Linked DNA regions of Homo sapiens: region 2 is linked to region 1. Evidence: promoter capture Hi-C in human tissues and cell types (Jung and others, 2019). All regions are on one chromosome and are shown on one strand. Each heading gives the region's core, a stretch centred on a gene start or on the middle of the fragment in contact. The rest is flanking DNA. Distances are from core to core; before and after follow the strand shown. Region 1 holds the start of TNFAIP3 (TNF alpha induced protein 3). Region 2 overlaps HEBP2 (heme binding protein 2).

What was found. Contacts are between HindIII fragments. The study calls those that stand out against the background at their distance.
Region 2: a contact is called between a fragment that was not itself captured here and the fragment with the promoter of TNFAIP3 in region 1, in 1 of the 25 tissues and cell types used here (liver).

What each region holds. Positions count from the first base shown.
Region 1 is chr6:137,863,994-137,870,855 of GRCh38, forward strand. TNFAIP3 (TNF alpha induced protein 3) reads left to right here and starts at 3,266. Exons shown (of 9, transcript NM_001270508.2): 1 at 3,266-3,549. WAKMAR2 (wound and keratinocyte migration associated lncRNA 2) reads right to left here and starts at 4,240. Exons shown (of 4, transcript NR_049793.1): 1 at 3,649-4,240; 2 at 2,590-2,891; 3 at 1,166-1,327. RefSeq lists an enhancer at 2,803-2,942 and silencers at 3,023-3,162, 3,403-3,572, 3,713-3,812. The HindIII fragment of the contact is 7,262 bases long and covers 653-6,862 here.
Region 2 is chr6:138,409,074-138,415,935 of GRCh38, forward strand. HEBP2 (heme binding protein 2) reads left to right here. Exons shown (of 4, transcript NM_014320.3): 4 at 3,807-6,862. The coding sequence ends at 4,005. Among named protein-coding and RNA genes, the nearest start is that of HEBP2, 8.3 kb to the left of the region's middle. The HindIII fragment of the contact is 5,988 bases long and covers 189-6,176 here.

The DNA.
Region 1 (6,862 bases), core at 2,016-4,515:
CTCTCAGCCTCCCGAGTAGCTGGGACTGCAGACGCATGCTAATTAACAATCAACAACCAGGGGCCAGGCGCGGTGGCTCACGCCTGTAATCCCAGCACTTTGGGAGGCCAAGGCGGGTGGATCACGAGGTCAGGAGAATCGAGACCATCCTGGCTAACACGGCGAAACCCCGTCTCTACTAAAAATACAAAAAATTAGCCGGGCGTAGTGGCGGGCGCCTGTAGTCCCAGCTACTCGGGAGGCTGAGGCAGGAGAATGGCGTGAACCCGGGAGGCGGAGCTTGCAGTGAGCTGAGATCGCGCCACTGCACTCCAGCCTGGGCGACAGAGCAAGACGACGTCTCAAAAAAAAAAAAAAGAATCAACAACCAATCAACTGTTGCTGATTCTTGATTAAGAAAGGCTCATGAAATATGTTTGAGCTCAGCAGGGTCTCCTCTCACTTGTCACACGTGGTGCTCTCTTTCATCAGGTTCTTCCTGCTCCCCCCATCTGGGCAAGCACATCTTTTTTACTGCATGGTACAGGGATACAGGCTGCAAGCACAGTCTCACGGGAACCGTTTAATTCCAAGAGGTCATGTGTGCTCATTTTACATAGTTCATGACCCATAAACCCCAGCATTGGTGTCAAAATGGCACGTAACTTAGGAACTCTCCAAAAATATTTCACATAATCAGAATTCCTTTTTCATCTAATAAGGAGACATATTTTTTCTCCTAAGTGTCTACTAAATGTTAATAAATATTCTCTTCTTTAAAGAGTTCTGTCCATCTTGACAAGGCCTATAGCTCAAATTAAATCTCCTTCAAGGCTTTTCAGCATTCTATATCTCTTTGGTTTCAACTTATTCAACAAATCTCCCCAAATTGTATTTCTCCTTTTTTTCATAAGAAGGCATTCCATCTATACTCTCTCCTTCTCTTCTTTTCTTTCCTTCTGATTCACCAAGAAAATTGTCATTGGTCTTGTCCATGTGTTACATAATAGAAGGGGAAAAGGCAAGGGTACAGCCCAACACAGCGCTGATTTAGAAGGTGGAAAGGACAGTAAAGACCGCCTGGTGGTGGGAGTGGCAATTCACAAGCCCAGCAGTAGAATCATGGAAAGTGGAGTTCGAACATAATCCAGGGCTATAGACCACTCCTGCATCTGACTGCTATTACCTTGTCACAAATCCTGGCAGGCAAGATGACAAAGCAGTTACATCAGGACAGTTGGCAGTGGCAGGTATGAACGTGGCCCCTCAGGCTTGTCACTCCTCTTTACTGCACTCCCAGTTCATGACACCAGACAGCAAGACATGAGCCAGATAGGGGCAGTGGAAGCTGCAGGAGGATTGAAGTCATGGAGCCAGAGATGAGAGGAAACAGGCCAACTCTGTTTACAAAGGAGCACCAGCAGGAGAGTGGTGTGAGGATTAACATTCCATGCAGGGTCTTTCAGATACATGATCTTCTTCTGCCAGCTCAACTGAAACCCAGGAGGTTTCCTGAAGGTGAAACCAAGACCCTTCTACCTCTGAAGCCGCATTCTGTCTAAGGTCCGTGTTTGGCTGTTTTGAGAGGCTGGGAGACAGGACACCAAAAGAGTACCTGTCTCACAGGATCTTTCCTGAGAGGAATGGTCTAGTAAGACTGGTCATTATGGGCTTTGGAGTAACACAGGCTTAATGCCACTGGCGACTCTGCCCCTTTTGGTTGTGGAAACTGGGCAAATGCCTCAAGCTTCTTAACCTTCATATAAAAAGCATATATAAGCATATAGCAAGTACTTGATAAATGTCATTTTAGACCCTGTCATTTCTGCTAGCCCTGGACTCCAGCAAGGTCCATTTACAATGGATAGCTGACTATCCATTGTTTGAATGTTGATAGCACATTTGTGAACAAGAAGAGAGGACAAATAACAAGAGGTTTGGAACTGGAAGAAATTCCAGCCATCGGTTTTAAAAGACGAGGACCAGTCTTCAGAGAGGCCACTAGTGACACTCTGCTCCAAACTTCTTTTTGCCAAAAAAGTGCCACCCTCCATCCAGCCCCCACCCCCATCTCTGCAAGTCCTTACTGGCGAGAGGAGGATACTTTTCTAATTAAAAACCTGTGATATATGGCCTGACAAGTATTCTTAAATGTAATTAAGGGGACCATAGTACAGAATATTTCCATCCGGTTCTAGTTTAGCCAATCTAGTAAATGATCCAAAGGGTCCCGTGCTTAGAGGGCAGTAAGACAGTAAAAACGCCCTAAGACTCCTCCCTGCACAGCACCTGCACCCCCACTGCCCAGGGGGCTGCATCCATCTCCACATGACTCACCCTCCCTGTGCAACGCATGGGGGTAGGGAGGGAAGCGCCAGTATTATCAGCCATCAGCACCCTGGGGTGAACTGATTATCAGGACAACTAAAAACACACCTAATAAAGCCTTGGAGACACATGGCAAGCACCGTGATGGACTAGAAGCGATTTCTAAGCTGAAATGCTGCTTTGAATGCAATGTCAGCTGGATGCTTGGTGAGCAGAAATAGACAAGGGGAAATGGAGCAAGCGCGGCATAGGGGTGAGTGTTGTTCTGATTCCTAAGTTTACCTAAGACTGGGGCCACGGGGTCGGGTGTCCCCTGGGACCTACGTCTCATGCAGCCTGGGGTCCAGAGCTGGCAGGAACAATGGAGATGGGGACCAAAGGCTGTCACCGCTGCTTTTTCTCGAAATGCCCGCCCGGGTCCTGTCTGGGGCTCCCGCCTACGCGCTCATCACGTGCACAGCCCAAACTTTTCAGAGCCGGCCCGAGGCCTGCGGGCCCGGGCGCCAGGGTGGTTTTTAGGGTTTTCTTTCTTTCTTATTTCCCTTCTTCTTCTCCACAGTTGATGATTTTCTGCAGAAAAACAACTGCGAAAAAGAACCTATTTCATTTCCAGTTCCCATCACCGCGATTTCCACATGGATGTGACGTGACCCCAGCTTCCGAAATGCCCAGGTGACTCACGCGGGGACACCCCGGGGCGGGGCGAGGGAGTTTCTCCGGGCGCCTGCAGGGACCGGGCGGGGCGGGGCAGCGGGGCGGGGCAGGGAAAGGGGGCGGGGCGGGGCCCGCAGGCCCGGTCGGGCGGAGGCCGCGCGCGCCCCTCGCCCCCTGCGCCCTCTGGCGGCCGGCTGGACGCACTTCGCAGCCCGACCCAGAGAGTCACGTGACTTTGGAAAGTCCCGTGGAAATCCCCGGGCCTACAACCCGCATACAACTGAAACGGGGCAAAGCAGACTGCGCAGTCTGCAGTCTTCGTGGCGGGCCAAGCGAGCTTGGAGCCCGCGGGGGCGGAGCGGTGAGAGCGGCCGCCAAGAGAGATCACACCCCCAGCCGACCCTGCCAGCGAGCGAGCCCGACCCCAGGCGTCCATGGAGCGTCGCCTCCGCCCGGTCCCTGCCCCGACCCCCGCCTGCGGCGCGCTCCTGCCTTGACCAGGACTTGGGACTTTGCGAAAGGATCGCGGGGCCCGGAGAGGTAACCGCCGCGCCTCCCGGAGAGGTAACCGCCGCGCCTCCCGGAGAGGTAACCGCCGCGCCTCCCCGTGCCGTCTGCCTCGGGCTCACCGCAGTCAAGGGCTGCGGGTGCATGTTGGGCAGCGACCCCCGGGCTGGCACCGTCTACCTGGCGTTGGTTTTGCAGCGCTCCTGGACTGGGAGTTTGTTGGACGTTTCTGTCTGGGTTTTGAAGTGCTGGGAGTTGAGGTCACTGCTGCAGAGGTTGGAGTGACAGCCCTGGATACCTCCAGCCAGCTGTTCCTTTCAGATAATGCACGGAACTTAAGCTGCAGCTGACTGGTGAAGAGGCGCCCCTCGGGCCCTCCGATCGGGTGGTCGTTGGCGCTTTGCTCCTTTCGTGTCTTTTTTGGAGCCAAGCGTTGCATGCTCATGGCCACGTAGACCTTGCAGAAGCGCTGCGGCTTTTTCCCAAATTGTGCAGGACCAGCCCGACGGGGCGTAGGGTACCGCAGTGGCCGCCAGCCCGGCGGAGGTGGGGGGCTTCAGTCCCAGAGACAGCTTCCCAGACGCTCACGGGTCCTTGCAGGGGGCTGGGGTCCTGGCGCGGGGTTCAGCTTTTCCAGTAGCAGCAGTGTAAGAGAAGTATGCATGTAGACGTGGGTCGCTGGCCCCTGCTCCAGCCCCTACCCCACGGTTAGACTGTCTTTGTCAGCTGGAGTCGTCCCACATCCTGCCACCTGGCCTCTCAGAAAAGCAGTGGCATTAAGTAAGGAAGGAGCTTAACTCTTTTTGAGCCCGCTTTGTTTTCGGTTCTCCTCGCCTCAGATCTTCTTGCCTTGGAAAGCCAGTCTGGTCAAGTGTCTCAGGGTAGCATTTTGGCAGAACCATTGTTAATTAAAGGGACTTCTGGACCGCAACCTTAATGTACCAGATTATTGAGCAGCCAATGAATGCTTCATTCTCATTGTTTAAGGTGCTGCTTTGATTTTTTTTTCAATTCTTTGTACTATTTTTGATTTTTTGGAGAGGCACATCCCCAAATTTGGATGAGGTATTTGTTGATAAATAATTCATCAATTTCCACAATGCAGACAAAAATGTCTGCCCAGAGTGGAAAAATAAAACAAGGGGGAGAAGAGTTTGAGTAACGGAGAAGTTCTGTGGAATCCTAGTGACAAAAGTTGAGAAACTACCTTTAAATAAGACAGTGAGGTAACAAATGTTAAAAAAAAAAAAGTTAAGGGTAATATTGCATTGTTTGCCACTTATAACGTATCTGAAACATTTGTTCTTTAATCTTAAGCGTAGAGTGGTCCAAGACCTGGAAATCTGGGCAGTGGGTTTTGATTTCTAAGGAGGCAGTTTTACAGGCTGTGCAAGGCTAACCCTACCAATGAGATCACACTGGCGTATCCGATATTGACATTTGCATGTCTTGCCTATGGTTTACAGCTCTCACTATTTTAGATCTTTGGTGAAAAATCTTTAGATTCAGAAGAGAAAAATAAAAGAGTCAGGCAAGCAAAAAGAGATAACACCTCATTTGTTTAAAATCTTCCTACTGCCCATCTCTTTCCATCTGATTGTGGCAGGCACTGTAGCCACAGGTTTGGTGTTGTGGGATTGCAAGGGGCAGGTATTGAAAGACCTGGCTCCTAGGCAAAACTTTGCCCCTGAATGGCTGTGGGATCTGAGCAGTACCTGTAACTCCATTGCCTTAGCTGCAGACTAAGGTGGTAGTGTAATTTCAGGGAAGGGAATAAGGTCATCTTTGACTTTTAGTCCCATCATCAAGCATGGTGATTGGCCTTCAGTAGGTGGTCAGGTAGTGCTTGTTGGGTGGATGGGTGGATGGATGGATAGATGGATGGATGGATGGATGGATGGATGGATGGATGGATGGACGGACGGACGGACGGACGGATAGATGATATTGTGAAAGAGACTTTTGCTGTGCCACAAAGGAAAGGTATATGTGTTATTTTTATCCTGCTATGATTTTGCCCAATTCCACCTGTAGAGGACGTCTGACATCAAAAGAGAGCACCATCTGATCCAGAGAATGACTCCCACTATGCCTTTCCCAGCAATCAGATTAAGAATCCCAATCTAAAACTATCACCAGAAAACTCCTCAGGAGAAACCATGGGTCATCTAGTCCAACCTCTCTCCTTTGAGTGGGCCACAAGAATTATCTCAACACCTTATCAATGGTGTTGAGAGTCTAGACCCACACAGAAGTAGCTACCCTAAAATCTAGGTTTCTTCTCCTCCCTCTTCCATAGGTTTAACATTTTTATTAACTGGAAAGTTGCCCTGGCAAATAAGATGTTGCAGGAATGGAATTAACAATCACTGTGAAATTTCCTAGGGAATGTCTTTGTGCTCTGAAAACTTCTTCATCTTCTTGGAAATTAGGAAGTGTGGCCAGACACCCTACTAAGGGCTAGTAAATCACAGCTGGCTTTTTACAGTGTTCCACACTGGAGAGATCCTACATCATGTTAATTTGCATCATCCTGCGCTGTTGGCATGGGTTGTAGATGCTGGTCTTTGCCACCTTTCCTCCTTCATTTGCCAGAGTGGCCTCCTGGTGGAAACTTCTTTCCTTGTCTACTTCTAGATTTTCATTCCTTCTACTAGTTGATTATGCTTAAAGATTTCAGGGTGAAAAGCCAGGCAGACTTGCCTCTGTGTTGGTACCTGGAGGGTGATGATAAAATTTCATTGGCAGTTGAGTTAAAATGATTGAGCTCCAATATCTGTTCTTAGAAGTATAGAATTTATTGTTCTATTATTATTTTGCGGTTTTTCATTTTTTGTTTTCGTAGAGACCTAGGTCTCACCGTGTTGCCCAGGCTAGTCTCAAACTCCTGAGCTTAAGTGATCCTCCTCCCTCGACCTCCCAAAGTGCCAGGATTAAAGGCATGAGCCACCATGCCTAGCCTATTGTTAGTCTGTTTCTTATTCTGATATGAAGTCCGGTGCGGAGGTTCTGAAGGAATGCTGACTGCTCTTAAAATTGCAAAGCATCTTGCTGGAAATGGACTTTTTTATTGATTAGAAAACATTCGGTTTTAACTCTTTATAAACATCAGAATAAACTTCATGATTAAACACTTTATAAATACTTCTCTTTGGGGCTAAAGAGGAAACACCAACCAGCAGCCTAAGTGACAGCATAAAATTGCAAGATTTTTCATAAAGTATTTTACTGTCCTTCCAGCATAGGGAGGGAGTGATAACTCAAGAGTTTGCCCAAGAGCAGGAGTGCTTGGTGGTGGTCTGAGGGGAGGAGCTACAGACTTGTCAGGGCTACTTTGAGCCCTTAACTGGCATCCAGTACTCCCCAAATCCAGTGCTGTTCAGGGTGGCCTCAG
Region 2 (6,862 bases), core at 1,933-4,432, 540 kb after region 1:
TGGAGTACAGTGGCATGATCATAGCTCACTGCAGCCTGGAACATCTGGGCTCAAGGGATCCTCCCACTTCAGCCTCCTGAGTAGCATGTGCCACCACCATGCCCAGCTAATTTATTATTTTTTGTAGGGACAGGATCTCACTATGTTGCCCAGGCTCGTCTTGAACTCCTGGGCTCAAGCAGTCTACTTATCTCAGCCTCCCAAAGCATTGGGTTTACAAGCATGAGCCACCATGCACAGTCAAGACAGCTTCCTGAGCAAGGAATTTACAGTCACCATCAGCACAATGTTCCTGACAATTGATTGTCAAATCTGGCCCATTCACCTCAAAAATGATTCAGGGTTTTGTTCCCTCCTCTCTATCACCATTGTGACTTACTCGGGTCTTCCTCTTCTAGGGACCGCACTAAGTCATCTTTGTGTACCCCAGTTCTTGGCACAAGCCTGACATTCCCAATAGATACTGGGATGTTGATTGATCTTAACTGAATTATTTCTTGACTATTTCACTTCAGTAGCCTGCAAGCCGTCTTCCCTGCCACCAGTCTTTTCCTTTCCTCTTCCACACTGGAACTGTCATCTTTCTTACCACAATGACAAAAGCCCAAAATCTCCGTTGGATTCCTCTTGCCTCCCCAGGGAAGCTCAGATTGTTCACACGGTGCACAGTGCCACATATGACCTGGCCCAGCCCTGTCTCAGCAGCTCCCCTTCCCACCACTTGGGCTTCTCACCCTTCATGTAACATGCCATGTTCTTCCACATCTTGTTACCTTTGACCTCAGGCACGTTAGTCCACTTTTCCTTGCTAAAATTTCCCTGTTTTAAAATGCGTGTGATCATAATACTTACTATCTCATAGGGTTGCCATGAAGATCGGATGAGTTAATTTATGTAAAACACTTGGAACATGAGCATCAAGCATTCCTAGCTCTAGTACTCTCTTTTTCCTCTTCCTGGAGAGCCCATTGCCACCCTACAGGACAAATGACACCTTTTCTGTGATGCCTTCTTCAATTTCTCCACCTAGCTAGGTACTCTGTCCTGGGGCCCTTCTATTCTTCTTCTTCTAAGTAATAGTGGCTTATTTATAGACGGAAATTTCTTCAAGAATATGACAGCATGTTACTATGTCCATATATTCCAGCCCCTGGCAAGGCAGGCACGTGGGGGTGAGGGAGGCAAGCACCATATATGTTGTCTGTGTTCTGAATAAAACAGTGAATAGATCATTGTGAAACAACACACAGTCAGAGAACAAAAGCTTATTTCTAATTAGAGGGTTCAGTATTTGATTTTAAGGGAAAATGAATTTGAAAACAAATTCCTTTTAGGCAGAACATGCTAAGCATTGGTTATTCATCAAGGAAATAAATAATACATTTAAGAGCCAAAATGTTTCTTTCTTTTTTTTTTTTTTTTTCTGAGATGGAGTTTCACTCTTGTTGCGCAAGCTGGAATACAATGGCGCAATCTCAGCTCACTGCAATGTCCGCCTCCCAGGTTCAAAGTGATTCATCTGCCTCAACCTCCCGAGTAGCTGGGATTACAGTCACCCCTCCTCACTATGCCTGGCTAATTTTTATATTTTTAGTAGAGACGGGGTTTCACCATCTTGGCCAGGCTGGTCTGGAACTCCTGACCTCAGGTGATCCACCCGCCTTGGCTTCTCAAAGTGTTGAGACTACAGGCGTGAGCCACCATGCCTGGCCCAAAATGTTTCTTAACCCATGGTTCAGAATTATATTCAATCGACATGAAAATGATAGAATGGAAGAGTTATATCAACTCACCTGCAGTGTTTTATTTTGCATACATGTGCATGCAGAGATTCCTACACTTGACAGGATTAAAAGGGAACTGCATGCCAGGAATGGTTCTGGGTGCTGGGTAGACATTGTTATATAAAGCAGACATGGTTTGTACCCTTAAAAGAGATGACACCTCAGCTGAAGCGTGGTAGGATTGATTTTTTGCACTGGCACATTGATAACAGAACTTATACCAAAGAAGGCATATTAGGAAAAGTTTTGTTTCTCAGTGTTTCTTATTCTTAACCCTCAAAATCAAATTCATCATGCTTGCATGTCAGCAGCTCAGCTAGGTCAGTGCTGTCATGATTTAATCTCAGGATGTTTTTGTTTATATACTGTAGAATGTATACTTAAACTTTTATTCTCTTTTCCCACTTTTTGTTTTAATCTTTTGACTGTCTTTTCTTCCACTTCCCCACAGCAGCCTCCTGACTGGATCCTTCCTCACCAGTCTATTATATGTCTGCCTATATTCTAATCCAGATCTTATCAAGTTGCACATTTCAGCTCAACATCCTTGGAAATAACCTCAAAAGGCCTTAGGCTAATGCACAGGGTTCTTCCTTCTAGTTCTGACTCACCTTCCTGACCTCATTTTATGCCTCACTATGAAAACACTTGGTATTTTTAGATTTATGGTCTCTTTCCTATCACTCCCCTTTCTTTGTTCAGCAAAACCATCCTCCATTCAGGCCCAACTCAGATGATTCTCCTTACCCCAGATTTAATCAGGTCCTCAACGCTCCCACAACACTTTGATCCTGTCCCTGTTTAAAACCCTTCTCAGAGGCCGGGCGTGGTGGCTTATGCCTATAATCCCATTGCTTTGGGAGGCCAAGGCAGGTGGATCACTCGAGCTCAGGAGTTTGAGACCAGCCTAGGTAACACAGTAAGACCCTGTCTCTACAGGTTTTTTAAAAAATTAGTCCGATGTGCACCTGTGGTTCCAGCAACTTGGGAGGCTGAGGTGGGAGGACTGCTTGAGCCCAGGAGGTCAAGGATGCTCTGCCACCATATTCCAGCCTGGGCAACAGACAGAGTGAGACTCTGTCTCAAAAAAACAAACAAACAAAAAAACCTCAGGATGTATAGAGAGAGCTGCCAGAACGTTGATCTCTTCCATTGGATCATAAATTCAGAGAGGTGAAAACTGTATCATATTCATCTGTAATCCAGTGTTTATTCTTTTCCTTAGGAGAGGGAAAAAGGGGCAATGTGCAAGTGAAAATCGAGTCTGGAAAAGGGGCTTCTACAGGGGTGTTGGTGTAGTTCTCTGATCAGCAGCACCGGCATGGATGTGGGAGCTCGGAGGAAATACACTCTCAGGCCCCACCCCAGACCTGAATCTGCATCGTAGCAAAATCCCCAGGTGACCTGTATGCACGTTAAAGGTTTGAGAAGCACAGGGTAGAGCACTTGAGATTGTGTAGGTTCCAAATCCACCTGTCAACAGATGGAAGGAGGGGATGCATCCTCCTGGGTTTCCTCAGTGCTTCTGAGGTCACATGGAGACTGGGAATCACAGGCAGGAGTGGTCAGTTCATCTGCTGAGAGGGAGTAGCTTTTTTTATTTTTATTTTTTGAGAAAGAGTCTTGCACTCTGTCGCCCAGGCTGGAGTGCAGTGGCGTGATCTTGGCTCACTGCAACCTCCACCTCCCAGGTTCAAGCGATTCTCCTGCTTCAGCCTCCCAAGTAACTGGGACTACAGGCATCCGCCACCACATCTGGCTAAGTTTTGTATTTTTATTAGAGATGGGGTTTTACCATGTTGGCCAGGCTGGTCTTGAACTCCTGACCTCAAGTGATCCGCCCACCTTGGCCTCCCAAAGTCCTGGGATTACAGGTGTGAGCCACCTCGCCTGGCCGAGAGGGAGTAACTTTGGAGCTGCACTTCACTCAGCATTCACGGTACTAGCGCCCGCTTTTTGCTTCAGACTGACATTCACATCAGTATTAAAATCATTCACGGTTATTTCCTTTCTCCTTTGTAGGTCTTTCGATGGATTTTCTAGTGCCCAAAAGAATCAAGAACAACTTTTGACATTAGCAAGCATTTTAAGGGAAGATGGAAAAGTTTTCGATGAGAAGGTTTACTACACTGCAGGCTACAACAGTCCTGTCAAATTGCTTAATAGAAATAATGAAGTGTGGTTGATTCAAAAAAATGAACCCACCAAAGAAAACGAATGAGAAAAATGAAAGGAAGTTCTGCTGTCAGAGGCAAAACATCTGTTTATCATAGACATCAACATGACCTATAAGTAAAGTGCGTGTCTAGTGTCTTCTATTGAGAGTACTACTATTAATTAAGCTTATTTCCAATGTGCCTTTTTAATGCTTGAAGTTTTATCTACATACACAGGTAACAGAGGACAGTAGTCTGTAAACATATAAATCGGTCATAACTATCGTGGTCTTTATTTCTGTGAGGATCTAGGGAAATTTCATGTCACTTCCCTCCTTCACTGCATCACAATCATATTCCCTTTTTTTTTTCTTGGATTTGTGTCAGTTGGATGATATCCCCTCCAGATAGTATCAATAAAATGTTAAAATTATTTATCTTGTGTGGAACCCCTAGGCTGTCAGGCCCGGAGAGGTGAAATTCAGCTGGACACAAAAATCAAATTGTCTTTTGTGGCTGCCACCATTACATTCTCTGTTGTATGTATTACTTTCCCTCCTGCATCCTCCCACTGCCCCACTGCACAAGAATACTCCATGTAACTCCATTTAAATGTAATGAATTCATTCCTTTCTTTCTGGTCTCCACTTAACCCCCTAAAAATCTTGCTTTTTCCCCTAAACATTTCCCTGAACTGTCACGTATTTTCATTCATTCTTTAACTCATTGTAGGGAGTCCCTGCTATGTTCCAAGCACTCTGCTAAGGACTGGGAGGTGGTGGTAAGAAAACCTGTGTCCCAAGCCCCTCATCACTGACTTCCTCTTCACTAACTCCAACAACATCTTTCCACCTCCTTAACTATTTCATTCACCCTCCCACTGTGAACACCACAGACAAGGCCCCTGGCCTCATGGAGTTTACATTCTAGAGGGTGAGGGAGTTCAACACAAATAAGATGCTTGAAATTGGCAAGTGTGATGAAGAACAGAATAGGGCAGTGGGGTAGAGTGTGGTTAGGTAGGGTGTGGTGGACATCACATAAGGTGGTCAGCAAAGGCCTCTCAAGAGACAGTTGAGACTTGAATGACGAGGATGAGTCAGATGAAAGCCAGGGGCAGAGGTGAGGGGAGCATCTTGGGCAGAGGTGACAGTGTTAAAGGGAGAGGCCACGTTCAGTACCCAGAACAAAAAGCTGCACACACTGCTTGCTGAGCAAGAGAGCACTGCTCTTGTAGGGCACGGTCTCTCGGATAAAGAAAACTGCGGACCTTATGCAGGGTTTTAGGAAGGATTAACAGACTTTCAAAAGCATTTAGGAGTCGAGGGAGCTTTAGTTGTGGGGATGCAGTTACCAGAGTGAGGCCGCTGCTGATTAGCATGATTTAGAAGCCTAGTTTGGAGGTGAGGTTACTGATGGGAAATTGTCATTGATTGTTTCTGGTACTTAATTGCTACTGTGGCCAAAGGATGGTCAGTTTTATTCAGGATTTGAAGTGGTGGCAGACAACGTGAGGTGTGCCACTCAAATTCACCTTCAAGAAAGTACCAGCCGCCCAGCTGTGAGGGGTGTGGTTCGCCGACAGTCTCCCCGTTACCGTCTTCAGGGTCCACGCCAGATTTCAAGATAAGGACACACTATTCTGTGGGAGAGAGGGACCTAGTCTACAACTGAGCAAGGCAGTGGTAGCTGACAGCATGCTTTTTTCTGGCAATTCCCAGCCAATAACTGAGCAAGGTGGTGGTATAAGACCTAGCCATTTAGGCCAGGTGCAGTGGCTCACAGCTGTAATTCCAGCACTTTGGGAGGCTAAGGTGGGAGGATTGCTTGAGCCCAGAAGTTCAAGACGAGTCATGGCAACCTAGTGAGACTGTCTGTCCAAAAAATAAAAAATTAGCCAAGCGTGGTGGCACACGCCTGTATTCCTAGCTCCTGAGGTGAAAGGATTGCTTGAGCTCGGGAGGCGGAGGTTGCAGTGAGTCCTGATCATGCCACTGCACTCCAGCCTGGGTGACAGAGCAAGATCCTGTCTCAGAAAGAAAAAAAAAAGTCCTAGTCATTTCTACCAACTCGAAAGCCCTCTAATAAGCAGTCTCTGCTCTGGAGCTTTTTGGTGGGCTGCTAGAGACTTTGTTAGATCCTACCGTTCCTCTGCTCAATCCTGCTTTTCCCTTTTCCTTTCAGAGATGTCACTTCACCAGTTTTGTACTCCTAACTCCATCTCAGCCTAAAATTGGCACAATTGGTACCAGTGGCCCACGAACGTAGGTGGTAAGACAGCATTTGCAGGCTGAGTGACTCACTGTCTGGCTGGCTCGGAGGCCCCCATCCCTGGTGGATAGGTGGCACAGACAGTCCCTGGCACAAGAAGGCTGTCCAGTGATGAAGACTTCAGATGAAATGGCATGCTGGTGCAGGGGAACGCAATGACTGGTGGGTGATTTGGGTGTCTCAAATATGGGAAGGGTGGATAAAAGAGACAAGGACAGTGGGCTTCCATGGTTATTGCTGAGTTGGATTGACGTCCTGCAAGTGGATAATGAAAAGCTGAGGTCAATTAACAAACAAAACTAAGTGTGAGCCGCAGAGTCTCTGTGGTAGCTTGCCAACAATCCTCATCTCATGCTGTAGCCAAGCAGAGCAAGCTGAAGGCCAAGCACAGGATTTGATGGTAAAAGTAGCTAACAGCCAACAAATACTCAACCAAGCCAGGTCTGTTAGATCAAGGTTGGAATCAAACTTGGGATCCCAAAACATGGGATGGGAGCATTTAGTGGATCTCCCCAACCATCTGCCTCCCTAGAAAACTCCCTGAATATTCACATCCTTCAGAAGAGGCCCACCCTTCCCCATGAAGAGCTGGAACTACCCTCCCTTCCTGCCTCTTCCCTAACACAAGGGAAGACAGTGTCCAAGGTCTTT